4 separate regions of the Homo sapiens genome follow, and all the other regions are linked to region 3. The links are contacts of gene promoters, found by promoter capture Hi-C in blood cells and fetal thymus (Javierre and others, 2016). All regions are on one chromosome and are shown on one strand. The core of a region is centred on a gene start or on the middle of the fragment in contact, and the rest is flanking DNA. Distances in the headings are between cores, read along the strand shown.

What was found. The method cuts DNA at HindIII sites, captures the fragments that hold promoters and counts their contacts. A CHiCAGO score of 5 or more calls a contact.
Region 1: a fragment that was not itself captured here is called in contact with the fragment with the promoter of NKX2-1-AS1 in region 3 in 1 of 17 cell types (M2 macrophages); the score reaches 5.0 in M2 macrophages.
Region 2: a fragment that was not itself captured here is called in contact with the fragment with the promoter of NKX2-1-AS1 in region 3 in 2 of 17 cell types (endothelial precursors and M2 macrophages); the score reaches 8.5 in endothelial precursors.
Region 4: a fragment that was not itself captured here is called in contact with the fragment with the promoter of NKX2-1-AS1 in region 3 in 1 of 17 cell types (endothelial precursors); the score reaches 5.3 in endothelial precursors.

What each region holds. Positions count from the first base shown.
Region 1 is chr14:35,877,564-35,880,366 of GRCh38, forward strand. No RefSeq gene overlaps it. Among named protein-coding and RNA genes, the nearest start is that of BRMS1L, 53 kb to the left of the region's middle. The HindIII fragment of the contact is 8,468 bases long and covers 1-2,803 here.
Region 2 is chr14:37,149,191-37,152,113 of GRCh38, forward strand. All of the region lies in intron 1 of SLC25A21 (solute carrier family 25 member 21), which reads right to left. Among named protein-coding and RNA genes, the nearest start is that of SLC25A21-AS1, 21 kb to the right of the region's middle. The HindIII fragment of the contact is 312 bases long and covers 1,118-1,429 here.
Region 3 is chr14:36,518,028-36,520,858 of GRCh38, forward strand. It overlaps NKX2-1-AS1 (NKX2-1 antisense RNA 1), which reads left to right and starts at 1,251. Exons shown (of 2, transcript NR_103710.1): 1 at 1,251-1,652. It overlaps NKX2-1 (NK2 homeobox 1), which reads right to left and starts at 2,205. Exons shown (of 3, transcript NM_001079668.3): 1 at 2,026-2,205; 2 at 958-1,343. The coding sequence starts at 2,102. It overlaps SFTA3 (surfactant associated 3), which reads right to left and starts at 1,529. Exons shown (of 5, transcript NR_161365.1): 1 at 1,441-1,529. RefSeq lists enhancers at 1-462, 1,621-2,620, 2,621-2,831. The HindIII fragment of the contact is 5,756 bases long and covers 1-2,831 here.
Region 4 is chr14:37,117,080-37,120,287 of GRCh38, forward strand. The region is part of intron 1 of SLC25A21 (solute carrier family 25 member 21); the gene reads right to left. Among named protein-coding and RNA genes, the nearest start is that of SLC25A21-AS1, 53 kb to the right of the region's middle. The HindIII fragment of the contact is 943 bases long and covers 917-1,859 here.

The DNA of each region.
Region 1 (2,803 bases), core at 232-2,731, 640 kb before region 3:
GAGCCAGATTAGCTGGATGTGAACTCTACCATTTATCGGCTGTATGACCTTGGGTAACTTCTTTTTTTTTTCTTTTTCTTTTTTTGAGACAGAGTTTCGCTCTTGTTGCCCAGGCTGGAGTTCAATGGTGTGATCTCGGCTCACTGCAACCTCCACCTCCTGGGTTCAAGTGATTCTCCTGCCTCAGCCCCCCAAGTAGCTAGGATTACAGGTGCGCACCACCACGCCTGGCTAATTTTTGTATTTTTAGTAGAAACAGGGTTTCACCATGTTGTCCGGGCTGGTCTCGAACTCCTGACTTCTGGTGATCCACCTGCCTCGGCCTCCCAAGGTGCTGGAATTACAGGCATGAGCCACTGCACCCCGTCAACCTTGGGTAACTTTTTAACCTTTTTGTGCCTCAATTTCCCCATCTGAAAATGGAAATAATACTTCATAGGGTTGTGGTGAGGACTTAATGAATATATGTCAAGTGTGTAGAACAGGGCATGTTACATGATAAATCCTATGTAAGGGCTGTTGATGAATTTGACTTCTCCTCACATCTGTGGAATTAGCTAGTCCTGTAGATTCTAACTCTGAAACATTTCTAACTGAAAGCATTCTCTTTTCTCTATTCCCACTGGTGCTGCCCTAGTTCAAGCCTCTGGTATATTTTACTGAAATAATTGTGATGGCCTAACTGGGTCTCTCTCTTTTTATTTTATTTTAATTTTTCTCTTTATAGCAAATATTACATTTCTAGAACCCAGAACTGATTTTTTTTTCCTCCCAGCTTTAAATCTTTTTTTCAAATCTTTTGCTTACCCAGAACTTCAATTCTACTTTTTCCAGGAAATGCTTCTTCCCTGATCTGACTGTGTGGTTCTAATGAGAACACCTCTTTCTCTAATACTGCACAATTCTTGGTCCTAGTTGAGTGCACTAGGTGAACGTGTAACTCAGCCTGCCCCAATTAAAACCCTTCTCTTGGATCTCTTAAACTATAACTGCAGGAAAAAGTATCAGTCTCCCTCTTATGTTGGAACTGGGACAATAAAGTTTGGAAATTATAGGCAATGACATTTCCTGCCCTGTGGAGACAGCTGAGGAGATGAGAGGTGGATGGGGAGTTTCTTGGCATTTAGCCTCGTGCTATGAGCTGACTCATAGTCCATCTGCACTCCGGTCTTCCTTGTGTTATGTGGGTCTTCTAATAAATTCCCCTTTTTCCAAACGATTTTGAGCTGGATTTCACACCCTTGCAACATTTATGATGCATCCTTAGAGCTTCATATTCTGTTGATATCCACTTTGAAAATCATCACAAACTTTTATAATTTCAGCACAAAGTCAAGGAATTAAAAAAAAAAGGTATTCATGGAATTACAAATATATGCATGAGAAAGAGAAAAGCAGTCCCTGACAACTAGGAACTGCGTGATAGGCCTTGGTGTTCTGTTGAACATAAACAATCTCACGGAACACCAACATCACGGCCACTCTGTGACCGTGAGGAAGTGGGGTCAACGCCCACCCCAACAACATCTTGTCTAAATATAGACAAAAACAAAGTCAGTCTGCAAACCACAAAAAATGTGGAACATTCCCCTATTCTGGCTAATGTGAATGACTTCTGCTTCTTTACCAATTATAGCATTAGCCTCACTTCATTCCACCTGCTTTATAAGTAAAACTCATTAAGATACTAAATTATGGGATTGCCCCCACTTCCTGACAGCATTTTATCCAGAGCAAAGCCCACTTCCTCAAACCCTACCAAAAATCTCCCAATAAAAGCCCAAATCCTATAAGTCCCTTTTAACACCTTCTTACTCAGACATCCACAGTTCCCTATGGTGTGGTTTCTCCCTCCCTGAAATGAGCAAGAAACCCAACTTGTGCAACTGCCGGTGTGTTCCTGGTGGCCTTTGGCTGGAAGGCATTGACACGTGGAACATTTAAAACAGTTTGCTGTAATAGTTTTTTTTTTTTAACTAGATTTAGACAATGATACAAAGTACATTCTGGACACAGATCTGGGAACTTCTAGTATATAATTATAATGGCTGATAAAAAACAGACTTTAATTTTCAATTACACATTATTGAAAGAATCACAAAAGACAAAAAGACAAGGCGAAAGGCATTTCCTGAATGCATTTTGTACTGCAATCTAAATTAGATAGTAGTACTTTGCTTCTAAAGCCAGAAAATAATATTAATATTTCTACTATATTAACCAGGGACTATCATCTGGAAATGTAAAAGCTACAGTCCCAGTGCATTTTCATTAAAACCTGAAGGTGGCAGTAAATTCCTACAAGACTTAGGTGCCTAGGTTAGAATTTGTATTTTTCCTCCTAATTATTCAAAATGGTATAGTGAGACTTCAGTTGTATTTAATCCTGTTGCATACTAATTAAGAGATGTTTAGGAAGAAGATAAAGCTCTACACAAGGATTATATTATTATTACTCTTTATTAGCTGAAAAAAATTCACCATGTAAAGGGCTTAGGGACATTGCAACTGGTTATATGCTTTAGAGTTACTGTAGAAACAAAGTATGTAATTAAACAAAAGGGAACATGAGAGCTTGTAATACAGATCAAAGTGCTCTGAAGGGATGTGGCAGTAAATATAATCATCCATCAGTATCCTCAGGGGATTGGTTCCAGGATCCCTGCAAATACCAAAATCTACAGATGCTCAAGTCCCTTATATAATATGGTTATTTGCATATAACCTATGCACATCATCCTTTAATTCATCTCTAGATTACTTGTAATTCTCAATATGATGTTGTGTAAATACTTGTTATACT
Region 2 (2,923 bases), core at 24-2,523, 630 kb after region 3:
CCTTCCTTGCTTCTTGTTGAACTTCTAATCTCCAGCTATGAGCTCAAAATACAAGGTATACACCAATGCAGATGTCCATGAACACATGAAAGAAACAGAAAATCTACTGTCACTTTCTTGATGCTTTATGAGGCAAACCTAATGAAACTATATTGCTCTGTAAAACAAAGTTGCTTACCATTTTCATATCATATTCCTATTTCAACTTTACAGAATATAAATTAAATGTTTTCTTAGGGCAACTAAAAACTGCTCCATCAAAAAAAAAATCCGCTAGGGCCGGCCACGGTGGCTCACACCTGCAATCCCAGCACTTTGGGAAGCTGAAACCCCATCTCTACTAAAAATACAAAAATTAGCTGGGCATGGTGGTGGGCGCCTGTAGTCCCAGCTACTCAGGAAGCTGAGGCAGCAGAATCGCTTAAACCGGGAGGCAGAGGTTGCAGTGAGCTGAGACAGCACTACTGAACTCCAGCCTGGGCACAGACTCAGGCTGACTCACAGAGCAAGACTCAAAAAATAAATAAATAATCACTAAATAGTCTTTAATATTTCTTATATTTAGTACAGTACCTTCAATATTCATCCTCCTTAGAACTATCTTGAAATCCCTTAGCTGTATACATTTCTCATTAAGAGAGAAAAAATAATTTAATTTAGTAATTATTTAAAAATTTTTTAAAGACATGGGAAAGTTATACTGCCATCTTGTGGTTAAAGTTTGATTACAGAAGCAAGCACTTCTGGCATTTCCCATTCATAAACCAAATCCACAACATAATATGTATCATACTTAAAACTTTTTCCTTACAGAAGGAGTAGGGTTGAAGGAAAAAAATCCTGTTTAGAACTTACATTCAAGAAAAATTATTATTCATACATATACCCAATTTCTTATGTTAAAGGCCACTGAATTAAAACAAGAAATGGCATTTGAGTCCCAGATACATAAATAAAACCTACGTGTTTGGCACTGTAGCTCCTGTTTAGAGATGTTTATAATTTATTATGACTATAATACATACCCTAGCCCTAATAACTTTGAAAAACAAAATTATGGAATCTAGGAGTTTCAGGTAATCTCTAAGATCTACAAGAAATTATGACATTTATCCTAAGCTTATCAATGATTTCTATTTTATCCAGGACTCTAATTCAAATTTTACGGCAAGAACCAACATAAAGAAAATAAATATTATACAAATAAAAACAGTTTCTTCCATCCCTCTTTCTTACTCATATACATAAACCCATTTTTCCATACATACACAGGTATGAATCACAATTAAAAGAAAAATTAATTCCCAAAGTACAGTCTGTATTTTTCAAGTGTAGAATTCTCTATGATCTATGCAAGGCAAAGATGCTTTGCAATAGTGGAATGTAATCAGAAGTTAACACACTTCTAGATCTAACTATATCTGCAGAAAGCTTTTCCTTTTAAAAAGAAAATAAAAAGCAAATCACCAAAATTATAGGAAGACAGCGCCATCTATAGGTCTGCACAAGTACAGAATAGTAATCTTAGTTTCAGATATAAATGTCCACTGTGATAAACTAGCCAATCAAATGTGCTGTCCTAGGCGGACGCTCCAAAATAATGCTGCTCATTCTCAGATCTCTGGAGAGGATCTTGCAATTTACTCCAAAGTGCTTTAACCTGCCTCTACAATCATGCCCCAAAATGATAGTGATAATAACAGCAATAGAAGCCTCAAGCAATCAGAACAAAAACTAATGTTTTTCACAATTGTATTATTCTGATTTGGCATACTTGATGGTCGATAAATATTGGTAACTTTTCAAGAAATATTAGCACATTGGTAGGTTCTCTCTCTCTCTCTCTCTTTCTCTTCATTCTGCAAAATTACTTTGGGCCATGATTCTATTTTAGGTGTCATCCAATTCTATCGAGTTCTATTGAATTTCATTCTTCTTTCTCCAAAGAGGAGGCTATACGTTCTCCCTACAGTAGTCTATTCTAGTTTTTACAGACATTAAATTACATGCGACTTAAGATTCCCTCCTTTTTCAGACAGGCCCCTCCTGTCCACTCTTGGGTTGCTCTCACTCTACTGAGTCACACCAGTATCTTATTAGTTGTGTGCGAATTCAGTTAACAATACGTGAGGGTGGAGGCTTGGCCCACTTCCTGACCAATTGCCTGTAGCATCTGGCAGAAAAAAAGATGCCGCATTAATGCCAACAGAGGCACTGCTGGTTAATATGGAGAATTTCATACTTAAGCTATGGCTGGCATTTAAAAATCTGCAAAAACAAGAAATGGACTTTTGTACAAGGGCAGACCCTGTTTGTTCATTAACACTCAAGTTCAAGAAAAAGCTGTGGTATTTAACATAACCAGAGAGAAAAAGAAGACTTATGGGGGCAATACTTGAAGGGGCTGCTTACCTGATTTCTCATTCTGCACACTAAGAGGCAGGGTGGAGTAATGGATGAGAGCTCAAGCTTTGAAAGCAAAGAGCAGAGTTTGAGTCTGTGTCTGTCATCAGCCTTGAACAAGATATTTAATTTCTCTGAGCTTCACTTTCCTCATCTTCAAGAAATTACAAATTGGCTCATGCCTGGAATCCAGCACTTTGGGAGGCCAAGGCGGGCAGATCACTTGAGGTCAGGAGTTCAAGACGAGCCTGGCCAACATAGTGAAACCCTGTCTCTACTAAAAATACAAATATTAGCTGGGCAGGGTGGCATGTGCCTGTAATCCCAGCTACTTTGGAGGCTGAGGCAAGAGAGACGCTTGAACCCAGGAGAAGGGGTTTGCAGTGAGCCGAGGTCACTTCACTGCACTCCAGTGTGGGCGACAGAGAGAAACCCCATCTCAAAAATAATAATAATAATAGAGATTATTTAAGCAAAGTAAGATGCTTTGCACATAGTAAGCATTCAGTAAATGTTAGCA
Region 3 (2,831 bases), core at 1-2,500:
CGACAAACGCACAGCGTCGGCCGGGGCCAGGCCGAGCCAGGCCACCCCTGTTTTCCGCGCCATTGGCCCGCCCGGCCCGCCCCAACCGACGGCGCCCTCCTGACCCAGGCAGCCTAGCGCTGGGGCCCAAGAGGCCCATCCGCGGGGAACTGCCAGCGCCTGCCCCAGGCCGTACCGTCGAGGGGGCTGTACTGGAGCGCTCACAGCCCCAACCCTGGCTGCCCTCCCTCAGTCTCAGTTCCCTCTTTCGAACCAAAAGACGCAGTGGGGGAAAGGCCGCTTCTGCTCCTTTCGTGCCCAGCCCGGGTCAGAGCATTAGGATTAGCTGGCCACAGGCGGCGAACTGGGCTCAGGCCGGGAGCTGGGGTCCTACGGTAGACCCCAGTTTGGAGAGGTTAGGAGAGGGGGTGTTGACTTCCAAAAGCTGGAGCCCCCAGACGCTTTGCCTCTTGGCTTCTCTCCTGTCAGGCCCCAGTGAGGGCACCTGCTCGGACCCTTAGAGTCCCCTCTGGAACTGCGAGTCCTCCCACCTGCCCAGACTCCGCTGGAGAGAGGGCCGGGCCGGGCGCTCGAGTGCCTCCCAACAGGGCAGCCTCCCTCCTGGCCCGGTCTAGCCTCTCCGCGCTCTGCTCGCCCCTGCTCCTTGAGCTCGGGGTCGCTTCCCTTGGCTCCCCGAGGTCTTCTGCGCCGAGCAGAGCTGCCAGTCCACCGCGCCTAGGAGACGCCGAGTACCCGCATCTGACCGCAGGACCCCAGCGCTACCAAGTGCCTGTTCTTGGACCCCCAGCCGAGCAGGGGGAAGCATCCCCAGCTCCCGCACCCAAGTCCCTGGCGCCGCTGCCGGGCCGCCCTCCCTGATGCCCAGCGCGCAGCCTGCCGGCGCCGCGCCTTCTGGACGGCTCTCGCCGCACCTCCTGAGCTCAGCCCGCGGCCCCGCAGTGGGGCGGCCTCACTTACTGGCGGGGAAGCGCGGGTCTGGGTTGGCGCCGTACCATCCGGGGCCAGAGGCGCTGTTCCTCATGGTGTCCTGGTACGGCGGCAGCTCGCTCATGTTGCCCAGGTTGCCGTTGCAGTAGCCCCCCACGGCGGAGTGCGAGAGCTGGGGCACCCCCGCCGCCGTCATGTGGTAGGCGGCGGTGACGGCGCCGTGGTGCCCCACGGCGTGCTGCTGCATGGCCGCTGTTGGCGGTGCCGCCTGGCCCTGCCTGTACGCCGCCAGCGGAGCCCCGAGGCCGCCGCCCTCCATGCCCACTTTCTTGTAGCTTTCCTCCAGGGGACTCAAGATGTCAGACACTGAGAACGGAGTCGTGTGCTTTGGACTCATCGACATGATTCGGCGGCGGCTGGAGGAGGAAGGAAGAGGAGGAAAAAAAAGGGAGAGGGGGAAGGCGAAGCCTCGCTGCTTTTTTTTTCTCCCTTTGCCAAATATTCTGGTGTTACCTTAACGCCGATCTTGTTGGATGTACACGTAACGGAGTGGACCGAGTCCTCCTTAATTGGCTTGAGTGGAGGCTCGGGGGCTGCCTCGCGTTTGTTTTAGCCCGGCGCCAGGTTTTAGGCAGCCACCAGAGGCGGGGCGTAAGCGCTAAAGCAACAAGACAATAGAAGCCTACATCTTGCCCGAGATAATTAGCTTACATGCTGATGACAAGGTAAACACCTTTAAGTTTCACTTGTCAGGATTTTTAGGTCTCAAAGAGAGAGAGAGAGAGGCAGAGACGAGACCCAAAGCATTTCCCCCCTCCCTTGGACACCCCCACCCCCATTTTTTGTGGGGTACCAGCGGAGCGCGGGGAGGAGGTGGAGGGGAGGGGAAGGAGGAGGGAACCGAGAGCGGGGAGGGCAGGAGGTGGGGTGGGGGAGTAACAGAGGAGGAGAGATGGTTGAGAGGAAGGAAGGTGAATGCTGCTTTGCAACCAACTTGCGGAGTTACAAAGTGGAACCACTTTCCAATTCGGTCGGGGTTCCCCGGGCACGGACAGGTCTTTAGGAGGAGGGGGCTGAGGGACAGGGTGGGGGTTTCACCTGAGCCTGCCGGGGCTGCTCCTCCCTCCCGCCGCGGCCTCCCAGCCCCGCGCCTTCCCACTGCCTCCGGACCACATCGGGCTTCGCTGCGCTGAGCCCCAGTCGCCAACAAATGAGCGAGCGAGTCTGGGGACGAACCCTGGGGCCGCACTGTTGGTCTACGTGTCTGTCAGTCTGTCTGCCTCTCTTCTGCCGCCGTCAGAGGGACACCTCTGCTCCCCGCCCCCTTTCCCCCTACCGGAGAGAATCCGAGCGGGCGGAGGGGGCGCTGAGTAGGGGATCGACTGCCTCCCGGAGGCTGTCCCGGATCCCCGAGCCACAACCCGCCCCCGCAGCTCAGGGGTTTTTCAGTGGGCCACCCCCGCTAACACGCCTCCCCCAAGGTCTTCCCCCCCCCCCCCCACCCCCGGCCGAGCAAACACAGCACTGGCCCCCAGAGCTGGGAGGATGGGAAGGGGTCTCACGGGAGGGTCCGTCACTGAAGTTGCCCCACCTCGAACAAACCTGGTGTCCCTGACCCTCGCCCATCTCCCAGACACGCGGGGATCTGGGGCTGGAGCTGACTTTCCGAGGACATCACAGCCCCAGCACCCGAGCCCAGAGCCACGCTGTTTTCCCCTCTGATGCTTCAGGGAGCGCGCGAGCAGGGAGCGGCGTGAGTGCCCGTCTGTCTGTTGCCGGGCGGAACTGAGCCTGAACCCCGGCGGCTGGAGCGCTGGCCAGGAGGGGGCGAATGCCGAGGTGCGGGCAGCTCAGCGGGCGGGAGGCTGGGCCGAGGCTCGCCTCCGCCCGCAGCTCAGCCATGC
Region 4 (3,208 bases), core at 138-2,637, 600 kb after region 3:
AAATGTACTCTTTAATTACTCTTGATATTGACAAAGGGCACTGTGACTCATTTTATTTTTCAACATAGAGCTAAAAGGTACATGAATCATCCTTTTGAAATTTGGAATGCAGGCAAAACAGTGGCTGTGAATGGAGTCTAAGTAAATAATTCCTCTCATCATCTAAACTTTTTTTCAGGGCATCAGCACTAGAAAAAGTCATTTTCTTAGCAGTAGCTTATTGCCCTAAAAAAGAAATGGTGAAAAATTTATTCCCAGAGCACAGTTTATTTACCATAAGATGTGGCTCAGTAAAGTGTTTTGTATGTTGGAAATGTAAAGTTAATTCTTCCTGTCAAAGCCTTAGGAAAACAGGCACATCGTAAACATACTTTTGCATTTTAGAGCTGGCTCTCTTTATTTTAGAAGAGAGTTTTTTCTATACATCCCTTAAGTCGGCATTCTTAGATGTGTAGAAATGAGAATAAGTAATTTAATAGTATCCTGGTATGACAGATCTAATATAACATATACTAGAGTACGTTTTTCACTCTCCACATGGGAATACAAAGAGGGAGAGGGGGGAAGTGTAGAAAATAAAATCCCAAGAGATGAAACTGATACCTCTCTATGAAGAACTTTTAAGCTCCTTCAAATAGTGGGGTTAAGTCACTGCCAAGGCTCAATACTGCCATCTCCTTCCTAAATGCAGAAATACATAAGCAATCTGAGGATAAAAATACAGGATCACAAAGCAAAAAGTAGTTACTGGATACATAAAATTCACCAAACATAGTTTTTTTTTGTTTGTTTTTTTTTTTTGTCATTTTGGTAGGAAGTCCAATCACTAAAGATAGTTTAAAAACTTTATTAAATTAACAAATATTTTAAGACTACAAAATGATTCTTTTTTGTATGGATTCCCCTCCTCCCAAAAAGCTTAATTTATAGTTTAAATGATAATAGCCCTCCCCAGAAACTAAACCACCTTTGCAAAACTAATGAAAGGCCACCAAGTTAGGAGGATGGTAGGAACCCGAATTATACTAACGTACAGATGTAATGGATTACCAGCCATTATTCCAGAGGTCACAATATTTGCAGCTTCTCCAACCACTCCTGCAGATAACACCACTATTGTTAGAACCTAAGAATGGACTTTTGAGATGTCTTTTCAGGTTTTTGCATTTCTGACAACTGATGGCTCCACCCAGATCCACCAACAAGTCCTGTGGCCCCACCTAGAAGCAGACTCAGCAAACAGGAAGACCATTTTCCACAGCTCTGTGATTGTACCCCCAAACAATCAGCAGCTCCCATTCCCCAGCCACCTGCCTCCTCCCAACTATTTTTGAAAAACTCTAGCCTCCAAATTTTTAGGGAGGCTGATTTGAGTAATAATAAAACTCCGCTCTCCTGTTTAACTGGTTCTGAATATGTAAAGCTCTTTCTCTATTGCAGTTCCCCTGCCTTGATAAATTGGCTTTATCTGGGCAGTGGGTAAGAAGAACCCATTGAGTGGTTACACTATTATTGATAATAGTCCAACTTATTTTTCTTATTTTAAAAGATATTTAAGGATTGAGACAACTACTAAGGAAGTACATAAAACCAACCTTAAATTTAAGCAGAGTAATTCCCTGGACTATCTTTTCTTTAGGGTTTTTATACTTATTCCTTGACTCCCATGGTTTCCTTACCTAGTAATTGATTCCTGAAAATCCACCATTACAATAATTTTTTTTTAATTTAAAGGTTTTTTCAGAGGCATTTGAACCAGAGTGACTCCATCTTGAACACAGGCTGGGTAAAATAAGTCTGACACCTACTGGGCTGCATTCCCAGGAGGTTAGGCATTCTAAGTCACAGGATGAGATACAAGCTTAGCACAAGATACAAGTCACAAAGATCCTGCCGATAAAACAGCATGCAGTTAAGAAGCTGGCCAAATCCAACCAAAACCAAGATGGTGATGGAAGTGACCTCCAGTAATCCTCACTGCTCATTATACACTAATTATAATGCATTGGCTTGCTAAAGGACACTCCCACTGGCGCCATGACAGTTTACAAATGCCATGGCAACATCCAGAAGTTACCCTAGATGGTCGAAAAAGGAGAAGAAGCCTCAGTTCCAGGAACTGCCTGCCCCTTTCACAGAAAACTCATAAATCCACCCCTTGCTTAGCATAGAATCAAGAAATAACTAGGCCAGGCACAGTGGCTCATGCCTGTAATCCCAGCACTTTGGGAAGCTGAGGCAGGTGGATCACTTGAGGTCAGGCATTCGAGACCAGCCTGGCCAACATGGTGAAGCCTCATCCCTACTAAAAATACAAAAATTATCCAGGCGTGGTGGTGTGGTGGCATGGGCCTATAATCCCAGCTACTCAGGAGGCTGAGGCAGGAGAATTGCTTGAACCTGGGAGATGGAGGTTGCAGTAAGCCAAGATAGTGCCACTATACTCCAGCCTAGGCGACAGAGTGAGACACCATAAAAAAAAAGAAAAAAGAAAAAAGAAAAGAAAAGAACTATAAGCATAATCAGTTGAGCAGCCCACGCCGCTGCTCTGCCTATGGAGTAGCCACTATTTATTCCTTTACTTCCTAATAAACTTGCTTTCACTTTATTCTATATTCTATGGATTTGCCCCAAATTCTTTCTTGTGTGAGGTCCAAGAACCGTCTCTTGGGGTCTGGATGGGAACCCCTTTCTGGTAACCATTTCAGCTCTATTAAAATGAAAATAGCTCACAGAGAGGTAAATATGTAATACAGCATCAACTACAAAGATCTTACTGTACACTGTTCTCAGGTAGGGTGGCAGCAAGTTCCTACCTAAAGATAAAGGTGAAAATGATATGATATGATATCTGCCACAATGATACGAGTGGCAGAAGGAGATTCAATGTTCAGACTTTAGAAATAGAAAATAAGATGGAAACATTTCTGTGAATCTATCAAAAGAAGAACATACTTTACATAAATCATAAGAATTATATTAAAATTTCACCACAGAAATAAAATAATCATAATATTTTTATACCTTCTAAATTTAATAATTCAAAACGTCAAGACAGCTTTTTCTTTAAGTAAACTATGGAATGAAATCAGGCTCAGGAGAAGATTTTCCCTTCCTTTAAAAACTGCCAATCTTTATACAAAAGTCACTGGAGCAAATTATCTCCTCACCCACCACCTCCAAGTTTTTAATCAACATGTGTTTTAAA